3 separate regions of the Homo sapiens genome follow, and all the other regions are linked to region 1. Evidence: promoter capture Hi-C in 16 types of primary human blood cells and fetal thymus (Javierre and others, 2016). All regions are on one chromosome and are shown on one strand. The core of a region is centred on a gene start or on the middle of the fragment in contact, and the rest is flanking DNA. Distances in the headings are between cores, read along the strand shown.

The links. The method cuts DNA at HindIII sites, captures the fragments that hold promoters and counts their contacts. A CHiCAGO score of 5 or more calls a contact.
Region 2: a contact is called between a fragment that was not itself captured here and the fragment with the promoter of DUSP12 in region 1, in 16 of 17 cell types (naive CD4 T cells, total CD8 T cells, total CD4 T cells and 13 more). The highest score is 17.7, in naive CD4 T cells.
Region 3: a contact is called between a fragment that was not itself captured here and the fragment with the promoter of DUSP12 in region 1, in 1 of 17 cell types (activated CD4 T cells). The highest score is 5.2, in activated CD4 T cells.

Annotation. Positions count from the first base shown.
Region 1 is chr1:161,748,271-161,751,510 of GRCh38, forward strand. It overlaps DUSP12 (dual specificity phosphatase 12), which reads left to right and starts at 1,516. Exons shown (of 6, transcript NM_007240.3): 1 at 1,516-1,875. The coding sequence starts at 1,532. RefSeq lists enhancers at 1,315-1,824, 1,886-2,532. The HindIII fragment of the contact is 617 bases long and covers 1,295-1,911 here.
Region 2 is chr1:161,528,636-161,531,875 of GRCh38, forward strand. It overlaps TRL-CAG1-6 (tRNA-Leu (anticodon CAG) 1-6), which reads right to left and starts at 1,789; the gene lies at 1,707-1,789. It overlaps TRG-TCC2-6 (tRNA-Gly (anticodon TCC) 2-6), which reads left to right and starts at 2,478; the gene lies at 2,478-2,549. RefSeq lists a silencer at 2,443-2,502. The HindIII fragment of the contact is 5,205 bases long and covers 1-3,240 here.
Region 3 is chr1:161,961,089-161,964,328 of GRCh38, forward strand. ATF6 (activating transcription factor 6) reads left to right here. Exons shown (of 16, transcript NM_007348.4): 16 at 1-2,982. Among named protein-coding and RNA genes, the nearest start is that of OLFML2B, 61 kb to the right of the region's middle. The HindIII fragment of the contact is 727 bases long and covers 1,404-2,130 here.

The sequences.
Region 1 (3,240 bases), core at 266-2,765:
ATGTTTTCTACTAAGAATGTTATATTTTTAGGTCTTTAATCTATTTGGAGTTATTTTTTGTGTATGGTCCAAGGTAAAGGTCCATCTTCATTCTTTTGCATGTGGATATCTAGTTTTTCCCAACACTGTTGAGGAGATTGTCCTTTTTCCATTGTGTGGTCTTGGCACTCTTTTTGAAGATTATTCTAACATATATGCAGTGTTGCAGGTGATTAGCAGCTTTCTGGGCTGGTGACATGGGTGGTAGGAAGAATTTACCAACACAGTTGTAGGTAAAGAAAGGCAGGTTTATTAGATAAAGTATGAAAATACATTGCAAGGGTGCAACAGGCAGGTCAGCAAGAGAGAAGCTGACTGCTAGGAAACAAAGGCTTGCTGGGGATTTTGTAGAATGGTGCTTATGTTGTGGGTGGAAGAGGGCTTTGTGCAGTACTAATAATGCCAGGGTTGCAGTGAACTAACTTCCATTTTTCTATCAGCTGAGGGTCTGGTGATGGCTGGGCACAGGCAGATTGTGAGTTATTTGCACAGCAGGGCTATGTGTCCTGGACCACGAAGAAAGGCAGACTTATGGCTTGTCTGCTTTCTCCTTTTGCTTCCCTTCGTCCAGCCAGCCTGACTCCTTTTCCCTAATTAGGACTCCACACGCAAGGGTTTGTTCTGTTCCAGAATAGAGACACGTCGATGTATCTATCTTTATACCAGTACTATAGCTGCTACTTCTTGACCAATTACAGCTTTAGTATCTCTCTCACCTGTCCTCCCTATACAAAAGATATATAAAATATACTCACTGTACTGAGTATCTTCCTGCAGCATTCAGTCTGGAGCAAAGCCTGCTTCCTTCAACCCTTTCCAAAATCCCCAAATAAAAGCCCAAAATCTGTAGAGGATCTTCCTAACATCCTCGTGCTGAGATGCCCTGAAATTCTCCATAACTCATGACTGAGTAATAAAACCAACTTGCTTAATTAAAGTTGGTTTCTTGTAGTCCTGGCCGGAGGACATTGACTTACAAAAATATAGGATTAGTATCTTCAAAATAAATAGACAGTAAACATCAACAAGGATTCACACCCCAATAATGAAATTGGGCAGAAAAAGGAAAAATAATCATGAAATGCACAGTAAAGATGGCTCCATAATATTGAAAAAAATTTTACTTCAAATGCATAAAATGATGCTTCTGATTCAGCTGGTGCGACATTTATTTCACATTTGAGTTCAGCTGCTCCTGATGTCTCTTTCCTGAAAATTTCAATACTAAGAGCTCGAGAAACCCTGTATTTGGGGAAGCTTATCCTTCACCATCAACTTTGGGGGTAGGGGTCAGAGGGAACAAGGGTGGAAAGGCCGCGCTGAATGGGGCCGAAGCTCCGCCCCTCAGCGATAAGTCCAGATTCCTGCGGCCGACGTGGTCCTCCGAGGGAGCAGCAGAGCCGCCGAGGCTGGCGAGTCCCAGGGGAAGGATGTTCTAGCCGGAGTCTACTCGATGGTAGGGCAGGAAGCCGCCTTGTCTCTGGGCGCGGCCATGTTGGAGGCTCCGGGCCCGAGTGATGGCTGCGAGCTCAGCAACCCCAGCGCCAGCAGAGTCAGCTGTGCCGGGCAGATGCTGGAAGTGCAGCCAGGATTGTATTTCGGTGGGGCCGCGGCCGTCGCGGAGCCAGATCACCTGAGGGAAGCGGGCATCACGGCCGTGCTAACAGTGGACTCGGAGGAGCCCAGCTTCAAGGCGGGGCCTGGGGTCGAGGATCTATGGCGCCTCTTCGTGCCAGCGCTGGACAAACCCGAGACGGACCTACTCAGCCATCTGGACCGGTGCGTGGCCTTCATCGGTCAGGCCCGCGCTGAGGGCCGTGCGGTGTTGGTGCACTGGTGAGTGGCCGGGTCAGTGGGTGACGTGCCCCGCCAAGCTTCCAGCCGGCCCCCGTCGCCCCTTACCTTCCGAGGCCGTCGGGAGGACAAGAGCGCGGTCATGCCGCGTGAACCTCCTCCCGCTGCCTCCCGCAGGAGGCGTGTTTCCAAGAGAGGAGGAGGGTTGAGGCGGGCCCCTGGTGTGTGCAGGCTTTCATTCATTCATGCTTTAGTTGGTTCTTCCTGCAGCAGCAGAGGGCGGGGGAGGTGTCATCTGATAAATGACAAATTACCTACACCCTAAGGAGTTTACAGCTCTGTTGGAGAAGCTAGACACCCACCCCGATTATTGTAATGCAGATTAGGTTGCTTGGTGTCTTGTAAACGGGATTTACAAAGATTTAGGGTTAAATGTTTTTGTTTGGGATGGGTGGCGGGTGGTTGATGAAGAGATGAATTGGTTTGGATCTAAAGGATCCCTGGGCTTTGCCTAGGGAGGAGATGGTTGCAGCAAAGACAAAAAGAAAATGGGAATCCCGCAGGGCGCGGTGGCTCACGCCTGTAATCCCAGCACTTTGGGAGGCAGGAGGATCACAAGGTGAGGAGTTCGAGATCAGGCTGGCTAATATGGTGAAACCAAAAATACAAAAATTAGCCGGGCGTGGTGGCTCTCGCCTGTAGTCCCAGCTACTCGGGAGGCTGAGGCAGGAGAATCACTTGAACCTGGGAGGCGGAGGTTGCAGTGAGCCGAGGTCATGCCACAGCACTCCAGCCTGGGCAACAGAGCGAGACTCCATCCCTCCCCCCAAAAAAAGAAAATGGGAATCCCTAAGCAGTTCTTGGTTGGATTGGAGTATAATAATCGTTTAAATTTATTGAGCACATAAAAGAAGATAGTGATGAAATCAAAAGAAGTCTGGGACCAGATTTTGAGGTCCCTGAATGCTAAGATGAAAGGAGATTGGATTTGTTTTTGTTTTGTTTTATTTATTTTTATTTTGATATAGGGTCTTGCTCTGTCACCCAGGCTACAGTGTAGTAGCGTAATTACGGCTCACTGCAGTCTCAACCTCCCAGGCTCAAGTGAACCTCCTGCCTCGGCCTCCAGAGTAGCTGGGACTACAGACCCCACCACATCCGGCTAATTTTTTGTAGAGGTGGGGTCTCACTTTGTTGCCCAGGCTGGTCTCCAACTCTTGGACTCAACCAATCCTCTCACCTCGCCTCCCAAAGTGCTGGGATTTCAGGCGTAGGTAAGCCACTGTGTCTAGCCAGGAGTTTGGATTTGTTCTGAGCCATTATAAAAATTTTAAAAATTACTGTTATTATTTTTGAATAGGTAATAGATTCACGTGGTTCAGAATTCAAAAGGAAAAAGGAATAATT
Region 2 (3,240 bases), core at 292-2,791, 220 kb before region 1:
TTTCTTAGGTTGATTTTTTAAAGACGGAGAGAAGGTTACACTAACAACTCACTTGTCCCTGGCTGTCATTTCACATTTTTAACTGCCCTCTTTTCCTGGCCCTGGCCCAAGTCTTACGCAGCCTGGCTTCACATGGAAGGAACCTGAAAAAAAAAAAAAAGAGAGAGAGAGATGGAGTAACACGTACATCCTGCATTACATTCTTCCTTTCCTGAATCTCATCTCAATTCTCAACATTGACCCCCCTCAACCTGTTTGAACTTCTCAAGAGGATTGATAGTACTCACTTTTTTATAGTTTCTTAGTATTTTGATAGTATGCCTTTTATCCTTTTAAAAAACCCAACACACACAGAATATAAGAAGAAAGATTTTTATCGTGTTTAGTTGTGACATCTCAGATCCTCCCATTTGAGTGCAATCTATTTTTCTATAGAGAAATATAAACAAACTTTATTTACTTTTAAACGTCTGTTGATCATTTTGGTTTAGTTTCTTTGGGGACTGTTTCTTGTATACTAGGTATCTAAAAATCCTTATATTGTATGTAGTCTTAGTTTGATTATTGTAATCACAACTATGTCACCCAGTTCCAAAGGGGGGGAAAAAAGTTTGAACAAATTAAATCAGAACACATGCCCATTATTAAAAAAATCAATTCTTGGTACAAGCAGTTTCTTGCCCCCTTCCCAGGTCCTACTCCTCACAGGCAACCACTTTCAAGTTGTTGGTTTTTTAAAAGAATTTTTGATTTTGCAATAATTTTAGATGAACAGACAAGTTGCAAAGATACTACATAAAGTCATTACTCTATATCCTTTCTACTTCCCCTAATGTTAAAACCTTACATAACCATGTTATATTTATCAAACCTAAGAAATTGGCATTGGTATAACATTAATGACTAACTGTAGATTTTATTCATGTTACTTTTTTTTTTTTTGGACACAGGGTCTCACTCTGTACGCCAGGCTGGAGTGCAGCCTGGAGTCAGCCGATCTCGGCTCACAAAAACCTCTGCCCCCTGGGCTCAAGAGATTCGCCTCAGGCTCCCGGAGTAGCTGGGACTACAGGCGCGAACCCCGGGTACTTGGGAGGCTGAGGCACGAGAACCGCGTGGACCGGGAAGACGGAGGCTGCAGTGAGCCAAGATTGAGCCACTGTGCTTCAGCCTGGGGTACAGAGTGAGACCCTGTCTAAAAAAAAAAAAAAAAAAAAAAAGGCTGGGGAGCGGGGCAAGGCGGTGGGAGAACCTGATCCTTACCAAAGTTTGACACTACTGCGTTAGCGTTAAAAAAAAAAACCCAGCTAAGACTGTAGAGCAAATTAAAGGATCCTGAGTTGAGGGCGTTCTCTTGTTTAGTCAAAGGAGATGGTATCTGCCTGCCTTAGTGTGCTTGACGCACAGAAAGGGCTCAACACATTGTTGTTGAATAAAAGAATGGATAAATTGACACTGGGAAGTTGGAGTCCAAAGTTAATCTTAGTCTCAACTGCTCCCTGATTTCATAGACCAGACTCCAGCCTACAATACAGGAAAAATAGATATAGTTCTATATGTGCAGAGAAGCACAAATAATTTTCGTAAATGTAGATACCTAGGATAAAAGGCAGTGTTGACCGATCGAAAAGTCTTTCTCTAAGAATTCAAACATAATTGCTGGTTGGTTCAAATCAGGAGGAAAAGTAAGGACGGAAAACACATATTGTCAGGAGTGGGATTCGAACCCACGCCTCCAGGGGAGACTGCGACCTGAACGCAGCGCCTTAGACCGCTCGGCCATCCTGACACATGTTTTACCATGCTTCCTAATTTCTCCTAATTTTATCATATACTGATGGTGCACGCTATCAGGTCACATTAATGTGTCTATTTACTGTTTCAAATAAAATTGTAACTCTCTCTAGACCTTGTCGCAAAGCGGGAAAAATGAAACAGGCTCCGACAGCTCTTTCCTCTTTCCTCACTACCCAAACTAATCCTTAAGGCTCCATTTTCCCTGGCGACTCTTCGAGCGCCCCTCTGCTTCTGTAGAGGGGTCGAGCCATGTCAAGGTAGACCCTGTGTCGGCCCGTCTCCCTCGGATCCTCCGCACCAATCACTGTTGCTGAATCCGACACCCGGCGGATCCAGTGCGGAGTCTCGAACAGCTGCGGAGCTGGGAGCTACGGGACATGAAGAGAGCGGGGTGGAAGAGAAGACGGCGGAGGAAAATCCCCCGGCGATGCTCAACTGCGGCTTTCTCTCTCGGCTGTGAGCCGGCTCCGCCCTCCAGCTTCCAGAGCCGGTGGCTTCTGCGTTCACCGCCCCGCGCCGTTTGCGGGGCGGGGCTGATTCATAAGAATCGGTTCTCACCAATGGAGGGCTTAGCTTGTTTAACCTCAGGATCATAAACAAAAGACACTGCTAGAACGGTCGGGAAAGTCATACGCTTTGCTTATCTTATATATAGATATCTAAAACTCCAAACCGGGTACGCGTTGGTGGTATAGTGGTGAGCATAGCTGCCTTCCAAGCAGTTGACCCGGGTTCGATTCCCGGCCAACGCAAGGGTTTTTGTCTTTCCTTCTACGAAAAACCTTTCTCAGTCAGAACCTATAACGCGCTGTGTATCCGTTTTACGCCTCAACGAAGTATCCGTTTTACGCTTCAACGAAACTGCAGCAATACCTCACTTTCCGTACTCGCTTCCTGTCTTTCCCCTGGCCTCTTTCTAAACCCAGGCGTTTTTTGAAGGGATTAAATTCTGATGGTTCTTTCCTCCCTTCCTTCCTTTGTAAACTTCCAACTCTTGAGGAATCTTTGGGATCATTTCAATCCTGGGATGAGTCTTAGCTTCAGAAAGGGGCTCTTGTGTCTTCACTTGCGAGGTTCATTCGCTAGCCACGCACTATTGAGCACGTGAACTTGGCTAGTTTCTCTAAGAAACTGCATTTTCAAATTTAGTCTTAGTAAATAAATCAATTGAAATAAAATTAATAAGTGAAAATTTTAAAATGGATACTTAATAACTCAACCATTGGAGAAGGTTTCAGTGCATTTGAAACAACGTGGCTATTGAATCTACTTTTTCAATTGTAAATTTTATGAAATCTAAATACGGATTTTTTTCCGAAGAAAATTTCCTTTCCGAGTTGAAATGTGCCGTCTTTAAGTGTAAAATACATAGCGATTTTTGAAGACTAGCTAAGAAAAAAAAAAACAGCCAATTAATATTTTTATATTGATTACTTGTAATAT
Region 3 (3,240 bases), core at 517-3,016, 210 kb after region 1:
CGATTCCCAGCTTTTTCTATCATCATTTTGCCAACTCCTCAGATGCAAGACTTTGGTTATGTCATACTCACCAACGTTAGTCCCTCTCTTCCAGGTGAAAAGGTGGGTAGCGGTTGGGAGGGAGTCTCCACTGAAGAGCAGGAAGGTGGTAGCAGGGCCGGCAGCTCTGCCACAGAGCTAGGGGTGCCTGTAAGGTGCCGCCTAGAGCAGCCTGGGAGCTTTGCCTTCTTTTGTCTCTCACTAGCCCTTCTACTCTTTGTCATTGCCTGTTCTTGAGTGGATCTTTGAAATGAGGGGACAGGATTCTCCTAAGGGTAGAGTTTCAGGAAATGAGTGAAAGGCAATTGACAAATGCAAAGAAGTAGTCACTTTTTAAATTGCTGGCAAAGCTATAATTAATCCCTAGGCACAATTGTAGTTTTTATTTTAATGTTTGTATGCACAAGGCCCTTTAGGAAATGAGAAGTTGCCATGCCAGATTAATTTTTTTTTTTTTTTTTGGTGGGATTGCCTTTTGGGGGTTGCAGCCAGAAATTGTGGGTAATGTGTGTATTTTTTTATTTATTAAATTTTAAACAGGATTGTGCAAGCTTATGAGACAATTAGATAAACTCATGGAGGAGGCAGGTCCTCCTGTTATTAGATGATTTTGTGCTCTTGGGGCTGACAATAATACACTCTTGGGAAGTGATGGTAGAGACTGATGGGAATAGTCTTTCTGCCTGGTTGCAAGTCCCAAATTTTTAAGGGTTAATGGAAGTAAGTGGATGTTTCCTCATGTTAACTACTGAATCAGATGTTAGGAGCTTGTCCCTTTGGGGTTGACTTATGCCCAGCAGTACAGGGACACAGCTTCATTAGAGTGTTAGTGTAAACTAACTCCAAAGTTAGGAGTTAATGTGAAAGGATCATCCTTGAAACAAATCTGCTGTTTGCCATGCTTGTAGTACAGAAACTTCACATGGAGTTTTGGGTGGGATTTGTGTTTTCACAAGTAAAAAATCCCTCACGATTATAAAACTCAGAGCATCATCTAATTTTTTTTTTTAATGACTACAAGTTCCAGCACAAAACTGGCATTTCTTTGCCATTTCTTGCCAGTAAGAAGTTGACACGGAGGTATTTGAAAGCAATGTTATGTGAGTCATTCTTAAGTGTTCCAAGTAAGTTTAGAAACAGAAAAGGAACTTGGGATTCAAATTGATTTTTCAAATCATTTTTAAAGAGACATCATCCTGACTAAATCTTAGCCTGAACCTTCCTCCCCTGTGTGTATTCCCCGGTAGTCACCGCAGCGAGATGCTGGTGAGACTGCCGTGGTGGCATTTAGCATCGTTAAAACTGGAAAACTCTCAAGCTCTTTGCCACTTTCCTACTATTTTTTGATTCTTGCCATTTTACCAAGCTTAGGTTGTGAAACTTGACAGAAATGTATTACAGGAAAAACTTATAATTGTATTTGACTTTCTAACACATTGCAAAGTTTCAAAGTGACTTTCACTTTCAACAACATATTAGAAGTAACCACTTTTGCTTTCACAGCCTGAAGAGTTAGAGCCTGATCTGATGCCCCCTTTCACTCTGAAGTCATGGGAAATTTTCCAGCCATGAAAGCCCTCTTTCCACTGCATACTGATGGGCTGACTCAGCTTCCTTCAGCCGACTGAGATCTTTTCATACTATTGGCTATTTCATACCAATTAACCTCTTAAATAAGATTGTGAATTGCCAAAATTGATAGACACTTATTACCACCTGTGGACTCCATATTCCTTACCACAAATGTTATTTTCATCAGTCCTGAGTCATTTTAACTTACAGAAATTAGGATTGTTGCTGCTAATATGAATACCAATTATAACTTTTAGAAACAAGAATAAAGCCTAAAAGAGAATGAAATATAAGAAATGTTCGTTCCCACCCCTAATAACATTTGGAAGTGAATATTCCCATTTTCTTCCACCCACAGGGATTGGGATTGATTTTTAATTTCCTAGGAAACAATACTAGACTACCCAAAAAGATGTTGCCAGAATCCAAAAGGAACTATGCTCGTAAAAGAAATGCAGTTTTCTCCTACCTAAAAAAAAGAAAGTAAAGTGTGTTCTGTTCTTATCTTTTTAATGACTAAGCTTTAAACAGTTTATTTTGGGTAAGACTAGAACTTTCGGCCATTTGTTCTAATATGTGTGTTATTAGATGCAATAGAATTTATGAAAAGAAGAATGACAAAGGTATCTGATTAGAAAATTTGATCTTACGCATGAATCCATGTCATGGCCAGCCACTGTCACATAGTGGGTGCCATTCTCAACATATTGGTTTGCTAACTTTAAGCATTAGGGATTTAGCACACTAAAATACTTTTAATTATATTAGGTTTGGTAACTAAGGAGTAAATAAATCATAATTTATCATTTGCCAAGGCCAACAAACAACACTATTGTGCTGTTTGCTCTCAATGAAGTTGAATAAACCAGGAGGCTTGGCATATCCCCTTTATGTTAATCCCAGCTAGAGATTAGTAGGTTGACTTTCACAGCAATTGTATATTGATCCATTTTAACTCATCCTTGCCATAATTTCCAGGCCAGTCACCAGGACAGAGGAGATGATGGGGAAACAGAGCTTTAGATGAAAACTACTATGCACTACTAGCCTTAGAGGCACTGGTTTCCTGTTACCACTTTGGCAAGTATGGATGGTCTAAGTCCAGTAGGGCTTCATCCATGGAGCCATTAGAACTGAGGGGGGAGTGTTAGAGATGCCATTTCACCAGGATCTTTTTGCTCAGGTTGTACCCATGCCAATTGAAGAACGTGTTAAAGATGAGGAGGAGAGATGTACCATTCTCTCCCTTAATAATGATGTTGGTTTGCAAAACCTAAAGAAATAATAACAACAGACTATTTCATACTTTCAAGCAAGTCTTTATACTACCTGTTATTTCTCTAAAATTCAAATAAAGAATTTTTAAACTTACCTTGTTTATTCTGTATGTAGAAAGAGAGAAAAAAGCCCCCAAATGAATCTTCAGTGTTGGGGGGTTAGTAATGGGAAAGGAAGCCTGAAAAGGCTTTGTGGCTTGTGTTACTGTTCAGATGAAACTGTTGAACTATTTTCCACTCTTCTCCCAAGCCTAATTAAGTAAAAATTTCCTTTATTTAAGTGTCCAGATATTTAAACTACAATCTTATCAAGGAAAAAAAAATCTAAAAACCCATATTTTATCTATGTCTT